4 separate regions of the Homo sapiens genome follow, and regions 1, 2 and 4 are each linked to region 3. The links are contacts of gene promoters, found by promoter capture Hi-C in blood cells and fetal thymus (Javierre and others, 2016). All regions are on one chromosome and are shown on one strand. Each heading gives the region's core, a stretch centred on a gene start or on the middle of the fragment in contact. The rest is flanking DNA. Distances are from core to core; before and after follow the strand shown. Region 1 holds the start of FXR2 (FMR1 autosomal homolog 2). Region 2 holds the start of TP53 (tumor protein p53). Region 3 holds the start of SLC16A13 (solute carrier family 16 member 13). Region 4 holds the start of TNFSF13 (TNF superfamily member 13).

Region 1 (2,700 bases), core at 103-2,602, 580 kb after region 3:
CTTCCAAAAAAGGTTGTCAGATTCCCGAACTGGGATAGTTGGCCAAGAGTCTTCAAGAAGTGGAAATCTTAAGATAAACAGAAGGGAACCTCATAAGCTTCCTTTCAGAGATCCTTTTAGAGATTATGACTATGAAGCTTACATGCCTCAAGACGAAGAAACTATATGAATGACCTGAAGGTATCTGAGGTCTAAGTGAGACCTCAAATCCATTCCTGAGTAGAATGGTAGAGCAGTGGGTCTTGAGATCAAGGTGTGGTGGGGAGAGAGACTTGCGAAAGATGCCACCTTATGGCTGGCTGGGAAGCAACTTGACTGATCCAACCCAGGGTTCCTGAGGTCAAAGATGCCAAACGTCGTAAATGGATCTGACCATTTCTCCTTGGCTTGGGAACCGGAATATAAGATGAAAGTGGGGTGAGTGTTCCAGAGCCAGTAGGCAGAGGCCTCTCTGAGGAAGATGAAAGGATCTTTTACGGGACAGAGGGCCTTCCCAAAGGGACCGTGTGGAAGAAAGACAATTCTCCATGTGCTTGGATCGTGGGGAAGATGTGATTAAGGTCTAAGGTATGTCTTCCACCAGACAACGGACACAGTCAATTAGAAGCTGGGTAAAGGGGTCTCTCCTGCGGAGCGGGGAGCGCCAAGCCAGGGACAATAATGGCCTGAAGTTCATTCTCCCGGAGATGGGGGTAGAAGCAGGTGCAGGTGCCTTAGAGGGGTCAAAAATAAGAGGAACAGGGTTCACTCTAAGCGGTCTCCCAGGGAAGGCTGCGGGTTGGAGCAAGGGTCCAAGATTCTAAGGGCCAGGACTCAGCTCCAGAAGCTCGATCCCGCCCCACGCGTTCCTGCTCCGGCCAGGGGAGGGGGCTAAGGACCGGCGTCCCCAGTCGGCGCGCCGTCTCACCTTGTAGAAGGCCCCGTTGGAGCCGCGCACCTCGACGGGCAGTCCCGGCTCCACATCCCCCCCAGAGGCCAGGCCGCCCATGGCGCCGCCACCGCCTCCGACTCCCCCGGCGGCGGCTGCAGCAGCAGTCTGAGTGCGGGCCGGGCCAGGCCCCCGGCGTCTCCCCGGAGGAGGAGCCGGAGGGGGAGCCGCGGGGGGCGGGAGCCGGGCCGGCCCCACGGCGGCCCTGCCACAGCCAACGAGCAGGGGGCCGGGGCCGGGCCGCTCCCCGTCCGCCGCCGCCGCCTTGGTCTCCGCCACCGTGAGGGAAACGGCCGCCGCCGCCGCTGCCTTCGTCACCTCAGCTTCCGCCCGCCGCCGCCCCCGCTGCTGCCTCAGTCCCGGGACCCGCTGCTGCCGCTGCCGCTCCACAGCCTCCACCTCCCCCTGCCACCGCCGCCTACTGCGCAGGCGCACCGGGCACCCGCCCGCTGCGCGCGGGGCCCCGAGGGCCACCGCGCAGGCGTCAAGGTTAGAGCCCCAGCTAGCGCCAGCTAGCGCATCGGGGCTTCCACATTCCCTTTCACTCTCTCACTCCCCCTCCTGGTCGCTTGCTAGCGCTTGCGCAGAACAAGATTAGCCTTCTTTCTTCACCGCTCCACCGCCCAGCCACCCCGTCTCTTCCTTTCCCCGCCCCACAACACTGAGAACCAACCAATCAGGGGGAGGGAGGGGCCGGGCTCGCTCAGTCCGATTGGGCGGCGTCCGCACAGTCACACAGCGCTCAGGCCACACCCACTCCGCCGCCGCTGGCCCCACCGGGCTTGGACAAGTTAGGGATGGGCATGCGCCTGAACGACTGCTTGGTCACTTTCCCCACCTTTGTCTTTCTTGGTGCGCACGCTCCAAAAAGAAAAAAAAAAGAAGAGGAGTCGCCGCAAGGAAAAAGGTGCTTGGTGCGCACGCGCTGAGCTTTACCCTCTTCGCGTATGCATCGCCGATATTTTAAGAATCTGTAACTCTCTACTGTAGTAGATTTAACAGTCATGGCTCTTACCTTGAAGAGATTGTGATACAATGAAAGTTTTGGCCGGGCGCGGTGGCTCACGCCTGTAATCCCAGCGCTCTGGGAGGCCGAGGCAGGTGGATCACCTGAGGTCCTCGGATCACCTGAGGTCAGGGGTTCGAGACCAGCGTGGCCAAAATGGTGAAACCCACCCCCCCCCCCACCCCGCATCTAATAAAATACAAAAATTAGCCGGGCGTGGTGACACGCGCCTGTAATCCCAGATACTCGGGAGGCTGAGGCAGGAGACTACCTTGAACCTGGGAGGCAGAAGTTGCAGTGAGCCAAGATCGCACCATTGCACTCCAGCCTGGGCGACAGAGCAAGACTCAGTCTCAAAAAAAAAAAAAAAAGAAAGAAAGAATAGAAAGAAAGCTTTAAGAATAGTTTCAGACGGGCGCTGTGGCTCACTCCTGTAATCCCAGCACTTTAGGAGGCTCAGGCGGTGGATCACTTGAGCCCAAAAGTTTGACACCAGCCTCAACAGGGCGAAACCCTGTTTCTACTAAAAATACAAAAATTAGGACGGGCGCGGTGGCTCAGGCCTGTAATCCCAGCACTTTGGGAGGCCGAGATCACGGGCGGGCGGATCACGAGGTCAGGAGATGGAGACCATTCTGGCCAACATGGTGAAACCTCGTCTCTACTAAAATACAAAAAATTAGCCGTGGTAGTTCCAGCTACTCGGAAGGAGTCCCAGCTACTCAGGAGGCTGAGGCAGGAGAATCGCTTGAACCTAGGAAGGTGG
Region 2 (2,700 bases), core at 4-2,503, 650 kb after region 3:
TCCGACAAATTATCAAACGACCCATCATTGCACTCTTTCAAAATTTGATTCTCAGACGTACCCATTCTTTTTTTTTTTCCTCCGGGAAGATGAGATATACTCATTCTTGAAAATACCTCCGGGCTTGCCTTCTGCACACTTCTTTCCCTCCCTGTCTCACGCCATGGTAGCGTCCGCCTAGGTTGCAGGCGACCCGCGGGGTGGGGCACACCATTCAAAGAAGGGGAGGGATTGAGGTTTGCATCAAAACAAATACCCCTGCCTTTGCAAAGGCCATAACTAAGTAATCCAGAAAAAGAAATGCAGGCGGAGAATAGCAGCCTCCCTCTGCCAAGTAAGAGGAACCGGCCTAAAGGACATTTTCTCTCTCTCTCCTCCCCTCTCATCGGGTGAATAGTGAGCTGCTCCGGCAAAAAGAAACCGGAAATGCTGCTGCAAGAGGCAGAAATGTAAATGTGGAGCCAAACAATAACAGGGCTGCCGGGCCTCTCAGATTGCGACGGTCCTCCTCGGCCTGGCGGGCAAACCCCTGGTTTAGCACTTCTCACTTCCACGACTGACAGCCTTCAATTGGATTTTCTCCATCTAGCGGAGCCGGGGGCTGCCTGGAAAGATCGCTCCAGGAAGGACAAAGGTCCGGAAGTTGTGGGACCTTAGCAGCTTGGGCTCCCCGGATCACCCCCAAATGATCATTTCGGAATGGAGCCCCAGTTTTCACTAGGATGCCATGGGCTCTAAAATATACAGCTATGAGTTCTCAATGTTTCGAGATCCAAAAGTCTCAGACCTCAATGCTTTGTGCATCTTTTATTTCAGGGATTCCCTACGCCCAGCACCGGGTGGATGTGCAAAGAAGTACGCTTTAGGCCGGCTCAAGGTTCCCCAAAGCTCCACTCCTCTGCCTAGGCGTTCAACTTTGAGTTCGGATGGTCCTAACATCCCCATCATCTACACCCAGGTCTCCCAACAATGCAACTCCTATGATGATCCCTCTAGCCAAGCTTCCATCCCACTCACCCCCAAACTCGCTAAGTCCCCACTGCCCCACCCCCAGCCCCAGCGATTTTCCCGAGCTGAAAATACACGGAGCCGAGAGCCCGTGACTCAGAGAGGACTCATCAAGTTCAGTCAGGAGCTTACCCAATCCAGGGAAGCGTGTCACCGTCGTGGAAAGCACGCTCCCAGCCCGAACGCAAAGTGTCCCCGGAGCCCAGCAGCTACCTGCTCCCTGGACGGTGGCTCTAGACTTTTGAGAAGCTCAAAACTTTTAGCGCCAGTCTTGAGCACATGGGAGGGGAAAACCCCAATCCCATCAACCCCTGCGAGGCTCCTGGCACAAAGCTGGACAGTCGCCATGACAAGTAAGGGCAAGTAATCCGCCTGCCGGAGGAAGCAAAGGAAATGGAGTTGGGGAGGAGGGTGCAGAGTCAGGATTCTCGCCGACCTGGTGCCGTAGATACTAACATTTTGGGGTGGAAAATTCTGCAAGCCAGAGCTGTGAGGGCAGAATTGGTGGAAATCATTTTGGAGGAATCCTGCATTGTGTCAAATATGAAGGGTGGAAGGAAGAAAGCTTTTGCGTTTGCTCTCAGCTGGATCCTTTCTTCTCATCAGTTAAAATGTCATTTTTTAGGAAGGCTTTCCGTAATATCACACCCTAACGTTTTCTCCCAGATACTTTATATCACACCATCTTATTTAATCTCCTTCACAACCCTTATCACTCTGATAAGATTTATTTGTTCATTGCTTTCAGTACATGGAAACGTAAGCCTTATGAGGATATAGAATTTTTCTACTATCTTATTCATTGTTGTATTCCTGAGTGCCTATATCAGTGCTGGGTAGCAAGTAAGAGCTCGATAATAAATATTTTTTGAATGAGGGAGACAGGTCTGAAGCCTGGAGAATGAGATGCAGAAGAGGTGCAAGACCTGCTGCGCCCTCTGCAGGCGGCGGGGGGGCGGTGCAGGTGCTTTAAGAATTACCGCGGGACTCGGTAGGGGGAGCGTAGGCGCTTCTCGCCAAGATAGAAGCGTTCAGACTACAACTCCCAGCAGCCACGAGGAGCCCTAGGGCTTGATGGGAACGGGAAACCTTCTAACCTTTCACGTCCCGGCTCCGCGGGTTCCGTGGGTCGCCCGCGAAATCTGATCCGGGATGCGGCGGCCCAATCGGAAGGTGGACCGAAATCCCGCGACAGCAAGAGGCCCGTAGCGACCCGCGGTGCTAAGGAACACAGTGCTTTCAAAAGAATTGGCGTCCGCTGTTCGCCTCTCCTCCCGGGAGTCTTCTGCCTACTCCCAGAAGAGGAGGGAAGCACAGGTGGGTTTCTTTAGCTCTGCGTCGGATCCCTGAGAACTTCGAAGCCATCCTGGCTGAGGCTAATCTCCGCTGTGCTTCCTCTGCAGTATGAAGACTTTGGAGACTCAACCGTTAGCTCCGGACTGCTGTCCTTCAGACCAGGACCCAGCTCCAGCCCATCCTTCTCCCCACGCTTCCCCGATGAATAAAAATGCGGACTCTGAACTGATGCCACCGCCTCCCGAAAGGGGGGATCCGCCCCGGTTGTCCCCAGATCCTGTGGCTGGCTCAGCTGTGTCCCAGGAGCTACGGGAGGGGGACCCAGTTTCTCTCTCCACTCCCCTGGAAACAGAGTTTGGTTCCCCTAGTGAGTTGAGTCCTCGAATCGAGGAGCAA
Region 3 (2,700 bases), core at 65-2,564:
TGGAGGTTGCAGTGAGCCAAGATCATGCCACTGCACTCCAGCCTGGGCCACAGAGCAAGACTCCATCTCAAAATAAATAAATAAATAAATAAATAAATAAATAAATAAATAAATAAAAGACTGGAACTGTGATCTGATTCTAAAGACCCGAGTTCTTAATCACTATGTAATACAGCCACAGCAATTTCTGTATCTTTGGCATATTCCCCACCAGCCGACATTTTGACTCTTAGAAAGTATATATGTGTATTATTGATGATTACTTTTATTTCCCACATATAAAATTATTTAAGGCTCAATATGTCTTTTAAGACTACACACCTCCCTCCCTGCCTCCACTTCTTGTTTGCTGCTTTCCCCAGTAATCTGGGAGTGAACATTGAGTCCACGGTTTCAAGGTCAGGGTCCTGGGAAGTATGGCTTATAATGAAGGAACAGGAAATCCAAGCCATTGGTGTTATGGAGACTGGGAAGGACTGGGGAGTGTTTGCTAGGGGCCTGAGGACTACTTGGGTAAGAGGGGGCTGACTGCTCCAGTGGCCAGGGTCATAGTTTGTCTCTTTAGTCTACCCCACCATCAGATCAAAAAAGGTGGTTAGGAAGTGGTTGTTACTAGAGGGCAGAGGAAAAGGTTCCAGCCCCAGTGAGGAAGAGGTAGGTGGTGTTGGTGGGGCCCTGTGTGAGCTTACAGCCGCCCTTCCTCTCCTCAGTTATTTTTGGTCTCTGTGACCTGTAGGTTTCCTGTTAGTGGGAACAGAAGTGACAGGAACGAGTTCCCACTACAGAAATGAACGCCAGGAGTCCAACTCATTCCCCTTCTCTCTTCCCTTAGCCGTTGAACTTCTCAGGGATCCAGGCTTCTAGGTCTGCGTGCCTAGGGCTGCGTGTTAGTGGCTTCAGGCGCTGCGCCAAACACTTCGTTTGAGTCTCATCTCCTAACCCCTCCCCTACCCCCAACAGGGCCTTGCAATTCCTGGACCCCTCATTAAAGCAAGAGAGTCCTCTCCTCTCCAGACCCAGTTTACCCACCACTAACCCTTCCGTGTGGCTCTGGGTGCTGAAACGGGGATGACTTGGCCCGCTAGGTGAAGAGGAGACGGAAGCTTCCTGGCAGTCCCCGCGTCACGTGGGGCCCTACCTAGTCAGCCTCCTAACGCCCCTCCTTACGCATGCGCCCATTCACTGCTGGTCCCCAACAATGCCTAAATCCCGCCCTGCCCTTCTCGTTCCGCCCCTGCCCGGGAGCCCCGCGTCCTCATTGGCGAGCTCCAGGGTGGCCCGGCCCGGACACCCCAGTGATAAAATAGATCATCTACACGGAAACTGGCGCGCTCCAGGGGTGGGGCCCAAACTCAGTTCCACCCTCTGGCTCCCAGCCGAACACCGAACCGGGACCGATCCGGCCCCGGCTTGAACTAGCTCAGCTCCGAGCTCGCGGAACCACGCCCCCGGGAGACTCTGGCCCGGCCAGCGCGGGCCAGGTCTTCAGTCCTATATCGCCCCGCCTTGGGAAAAGGTGCAGGGGCCTCTCGCCGCCTCGTCGGGCCCTTCCTCTCTACCTGCCTCTCCAACCCCTCTCGGCCCCGAGCCACCCGGCAGCGGGGGTGGGTGTGCAGAGGTGCGGCGTCCAGAACCCGGCTCCTGCAGAGGCTCTGGGTGGCAGCAGCCCTGTTACCGCTTAGATGGCGCGCAGGACAGAGCCCCCCGACGGGGGCTGGGGATGGGTGGTGGTGCTCTCAGCGTTCTTCCAGTCGGCGCTTGTGTTTGGGGTGCTCCGCTCCTTTGGGGTCTTCTTCGTGGAGTTTGTGGCGGCGTTTGAGGAGCAGGCAGCGCGCGTCTCCTGGATCGCCTCCATAGGAATCGCGGTGCAGCAGTTTGGGAGTGAGTGCGGCGCCTGGATCTGGCGGACTGCGACCCTCGGAAGGGAGAGGGAATGCGGCGACTGGGAAGTGGAAGGGCGAGGGGCGGGAGATGCTGGGGGGGAGACCCCTGAGATCTTCTCGCAGCGCCCCTTCCACTTCCTCAGGCCCGGTAGGCAGTGCCCTGAGCACGAAGTTCGGGCCCAGGCCCGTGGTGATGACTGGAGGCATCTTGGCTGCGCTGGGGATGCTGCTCGCCTCTTTTGCTACTTCCTTGACCCACCTATACCTGAGTATTGGGTTGCTGTCAGGTGAGAGCCTGCACAAGGGCAGGAGAGTCAAATGCTTAGATCGTTGGATGTTCACCTCCTTCCTGCTCCTTCCAAAGGGTTCGGGGAGAAGCTGAGGGAAAGTTTAGCTAGCACCTGTACCCAGAAGGGAATTCTTAATAGGAATGACTAAAGCGACAAACATGGTGAGGAATTAGGAAATTCAAGGATGATGAAACCTGGCCGGGCACGGTGGCTCACGCCTGTAATCCCAGCACTTTGGGAAGCCGAGGCGGGTGGATCACGAGGTCAGGAGTTTGAGACCAGCCTGGCCAACATGGTGAAACCCCGTCTCTACAAAAATACAAAAATTAGCCGGGCCTGGTGGCGCTAATCCCAGTTACTCGGGAGGCTGAGGCAGGAGAATCGCTTGAACCCGGGAGGCGGAGGTTGCAGTGAGCCAAGATCGCACCACTGCACTCCAGCCTGGGCGACAGAGCAAGATTCTGTCTCAAAAAAAAAAAAAAAAAAGATGAAACCAAGTATACAAGCCCAGAAGCCCAGGGCTAATG
Region 4 (2,700 bases), core at 1-2,500, 520 kb after region 3:
TCCATCCCACATAAATACAGTATTCCCACTCTTATCTTACAACTCCCCCACCGCCCACTCTCCACCTCACTAGCTCCCCAATCCCTGACCCTTTGAGGCCCCCAGTGATCTCGACTCCCCCCTGGCCACAGACCCCCAGGGCATTGTGTTCACTGTACTCTGTGGGCAAGGATGGGTCCAGAAGACCCCACTTCAGGCACTAAGAGGGGCTGGACCTGGCGGCAGGAAGCCAAAGAGACTGGGCCTAGGCCAGGAGTTCCCAAATGTGAGGGGCGAGAAACAAGACAAGCTCCTCCCTTGAGAATTCCCTGTGGATTTTTAAAACAGATATTATTTTTATTATTATTGTGACAAAATGTTGATAAATGGATATTAAATAGAATAAGTCATAGTCTCTCTCTTTATTGGGGCTCAGGGGACACTCTCAGGGTAGCTGGGGGCCACGTGAAGGGGGGCGTTGCGGAGCGGCACAGCTGGAACTCCGGGATGATGTTCAGGCTTGGGGGCGGGGACCTCCATGCCTCCAGCCCCCAGGTGGGAGCAGAGGTAGGAAGGCACACTGCCCAGGAAAAAAATCAATCCTCCGCCCAAGGTACAGCAGAAGCGGCCTCCTTGGCCTAGGAGGCAGACTTCCTCCTGCGGGGAAATCCCTTCCTGGCTGGGAGGAGCAGGGGCCCTTCCTCTTGGTGGCCTCGGACATTCAGCAGGTGCTGGCACAGGCCCTGGCTGGGAGGTGGGGCGGGCAGGAGCCAGCCTGGAGGAGGGGCTGAGAGTCAGCAGGCACACGGGAACCCGGAACCCTGTGTGCTGGGGAGGAATCCCGCAGTGGCCGGGGGGCTTGAGGCCGCTGCTTTGTCTCTTCGTCCAGAGCCTTATGTAAGAGCTTTTCTCGGGAAACAGGAAGTCCTGCTTGCCAATTTCAGCACAGGGAGTAGTGCAGGCCTTATTCCAACACACCCGGCCCAGCCTTAACCCCAGAACTCAGCCAGTTTCTTGCTTCCGTGCCCCTGGTTCTCCTCCCCATCGAGCCCACCCCTCCTTTCCCACCTTCAGTCACCCCTAGTGAACTGCCCCAGCGATCTCTGCTGTGCTTGACCCCGAGGGTCTTCCACCCTCGCCCTGACCCTGGACACTGCCCAGCTTGGCCCCCCATCCTGCTCCTGGCACAATGCCCTCTAGCCAGCCAACCTTCCCTCCCCCAACCCTGGGGCCGCCCCAGGGTTCCTGCGCACTGCCTGTTCCTCCTGGGTGTCACTGGCAGCCCTGTCCTTCCTAGAGGGACTGGAACCTAATTCTCCTGAGGCTGAGGGAGGGTGGAGGGTCTCAAGGCAACGCTGGCCCCACGACGGAGTGCCAGGAGCACTAACAGTACCCTTAGCTTGCTTTCCTCCTCCCTCCTTTTTATTTTCAAGTTCCTTTTTATTTCTCCTTGCGTAACAACCTTCTTCCCTTCTGCACCACTGCCCGTACCCTTACCCGCCCCGCCACCTCCTTGCTACCCCACTCTTGAAACCACAGCTGTTGGCAGGGTCCCCAGCTCATGCCAGCCTCATCTCCTTTCTTGCTAGCCCCCAAAGGGCCTCCAGGCAACATGGGGGGCCCAGTCAGAGAGCCGGCACTCTCAGTTGCCCTCTGGTTGAGTTGGGGGGCAGCTCTGGGGGCCGTGGCTTGTGCCATGGCTCTGCTGACCCAACAAACAGAGCTGCAGAGCCTCAGGAGAGAGGTGAGCCGGCTGCAGGGGACAGGAGGCCCCTCCCAGAATGGGGAAGGGTATCCCTGGCAGAGTCTCCCGGAGCAGGTGAGTGAGGGGAGGAGGGTGTCTGGGAGAGGATGGTTAGCATGGGGGGTCTCTGGGCCTCCTGGTCTGCAAAGTTTCAAGGGGGTGCAAGAGAGGGTCTCCGGTTTGGAAGTCAGGGGCGCGGCCATTCCAGGAAAGGAAACTGTTAAAGGTTAATGCTTCTCATACCTAACAAATCCTGGAGGGCAGCCAGCACCAACACTCAGGGTGCTGGGAAAAGGTGCGTGAGAGATCTGAGGCATCTCGGGGGCAGGGGAGGGCTGGGAAGGCAGGCTGGCTGGGACCCTCGCATCTTAACCTAACCTTGACCCTCTTTCCATGAGCAGAGTTCCGATGCCCTGGAAGCCTGGGAGAATGGGGAGAGATCCCGGAAAAGGAGAGCAGTGCTCACCCAAAAACAGAAGAGTGAGGCTTCCAGGGTGCAGCAGGGGTGGGAGGTGATCAAGCAGCGTGGGGATTGTAAGCCCGAGTCAGGGTGAGGGTGGAGGCTGCCAACAGCACAACGGGGGAAAGTGGATGCGGCTGAGATTCCCTCCTTCTCTCCTCAGAGCAGCACTCTGTCCTGCACCTGGTTCCCATTAACGCCACCTCCAAGGGTGAGCACTATTTTAAATAATGGCTTTGGGGAGGGGCAATAACCAGGAACTCGGGCTGGCACTTGGGCTCAAGGGGTCCTTATAGGTGAAAGGGAAAGAACCAAAAAGCACCTGAGAGTGCCAAGAAGTCCTGACCGACACACTCTCACCTCCAGATGACTCCGATGTGACAGAGGTGATGTGGCAACCAGCTCTTAGGCGTGGGAGAGGCCTACAGGCCCAAGGATATGGTGTCCGAATCCAGGATGCTGGAGTTTATCTGCTGTATAGCCAGGTAACCCCAGCCACACTCTGAGCTTCACAGAG

Evidence for each region. Contacts are between HindIII fragments. The CHiCAGO score rates a contact against its expected background, and 5 or more counts as called.
Region 1: the fragment with the promoter of FXR2 here is called in contact with the fragment with the promoter of SLC16A13 in region 3 in 2 of 17 cell types (fetal thymus and M0 macrophages); the score reaches 6.0 in fetal thymus.
Region 2: the fragment with the promoter of TP53 here is called in contact with the fragment with the promoter of SLC16A13 in region 3 in 6 of 17 cell types (fetal thymus, naive CD4 T cells, naive B cells and 3 more); the score reaches 9.5 in fetal thymus.
Region 4: the fragment with the promoter of TNFSF13 here is called in contact with the fragment with the promoter of SLC16A13 in region 3 in 1 of 17 cell types (M0 macrophages); the score reaches 6.2 in M0 macrophages.

The regions. Positions count from the first base shown.
Region 1 is chr17:7,613,545-7,616,244 of GRCh38, forward strand. FXR2 (FMR1 autosomal homolog 2) reads right to left here and starts at 1,353. Exons shown (of 17, transcript NM_004860.4): 1 at 908-1,353. The coding sequence starts at 988. It also overlaps a transcript of SHBG not described here. RefSeq lists silencers at 908-1,437, 1,548-1,597. The HindIII fragment of the contact is 2,190 bases long and covers 136-2,325 here.
Region 2 is chr17:7,686,237-7,688,936 of GRCh38, forward strand. TP53 (tumor protein p53) reads right to left here and starts at 1,254. Exons shown (of 11, transcript NM_000546.6): 1 at 1,141-1,254. WRAP53 (WD repeat containing antisense to TP53) reads left to right here and starts at 2,241. Exons shown (of 11, transcript NM_001143992.2): 1 at 2,241-2,325; 2 at 2,412-2,700. The coding sequence starts at 2,413. RefSeq lists enhancers at 1-104, 124-671, 135-184, 145-1,344, 2,143-2,192. The HindIII fragment of the contact is 572 bases long and covers 1,000-1,571 here.
Region 3 is chr17:7,034,701-7,037,400 of GRCh38, forward strand. It overlaps SLC16A13 (solute carrier family 16 member 13), which reads left to right and starts at 1,315. Exons shown (of 4, transcript NM_201566.3): 1 at 1,315-1,881; 2 at 2,027-2,170. The coding sequence starts at 1,683. RefSeq lists enhancers at 754-1,254, 863-912, 1,643-1,882. The HindIII fragment of the contact is 2,004 bases long and covers 1,102-2,700 here.
Region 4 is chr17:7,557,500-7,560,199 of GRCh38, forward strand. TNFSF13 (TNF superfamily member 13) reads left to right here and starts at 1,251. Exons shown (of 6, transcript NM_003808.4): 1 at 1,251-1,798; 2 at 2,125-2,203; 3 at 2,347-2,394; 4 at 2,550-2,668. The coding sequence starts at 1,541. It overlaps TNFSF12-TNFSF13 (TNFSF12-TNFSF13 readthrough), which reads left to right. Exons shown (of 11, transcript NM_172089.4): 7 at 2,125-2,203; 8 at 2,347-2,394; 9 at 2,550-2,668. It overlaps TNFSF12 (TNF superfamily member 12), which reads left to right. Exons shown (of 7, transcript NM_003809.3): 7 at 1-382. RefSeq lists enhancers at 1-794, 380-439, 1,250-1,299. The HindIII fragment of the contact is 8,242 bases long and covers 1-2,700 here.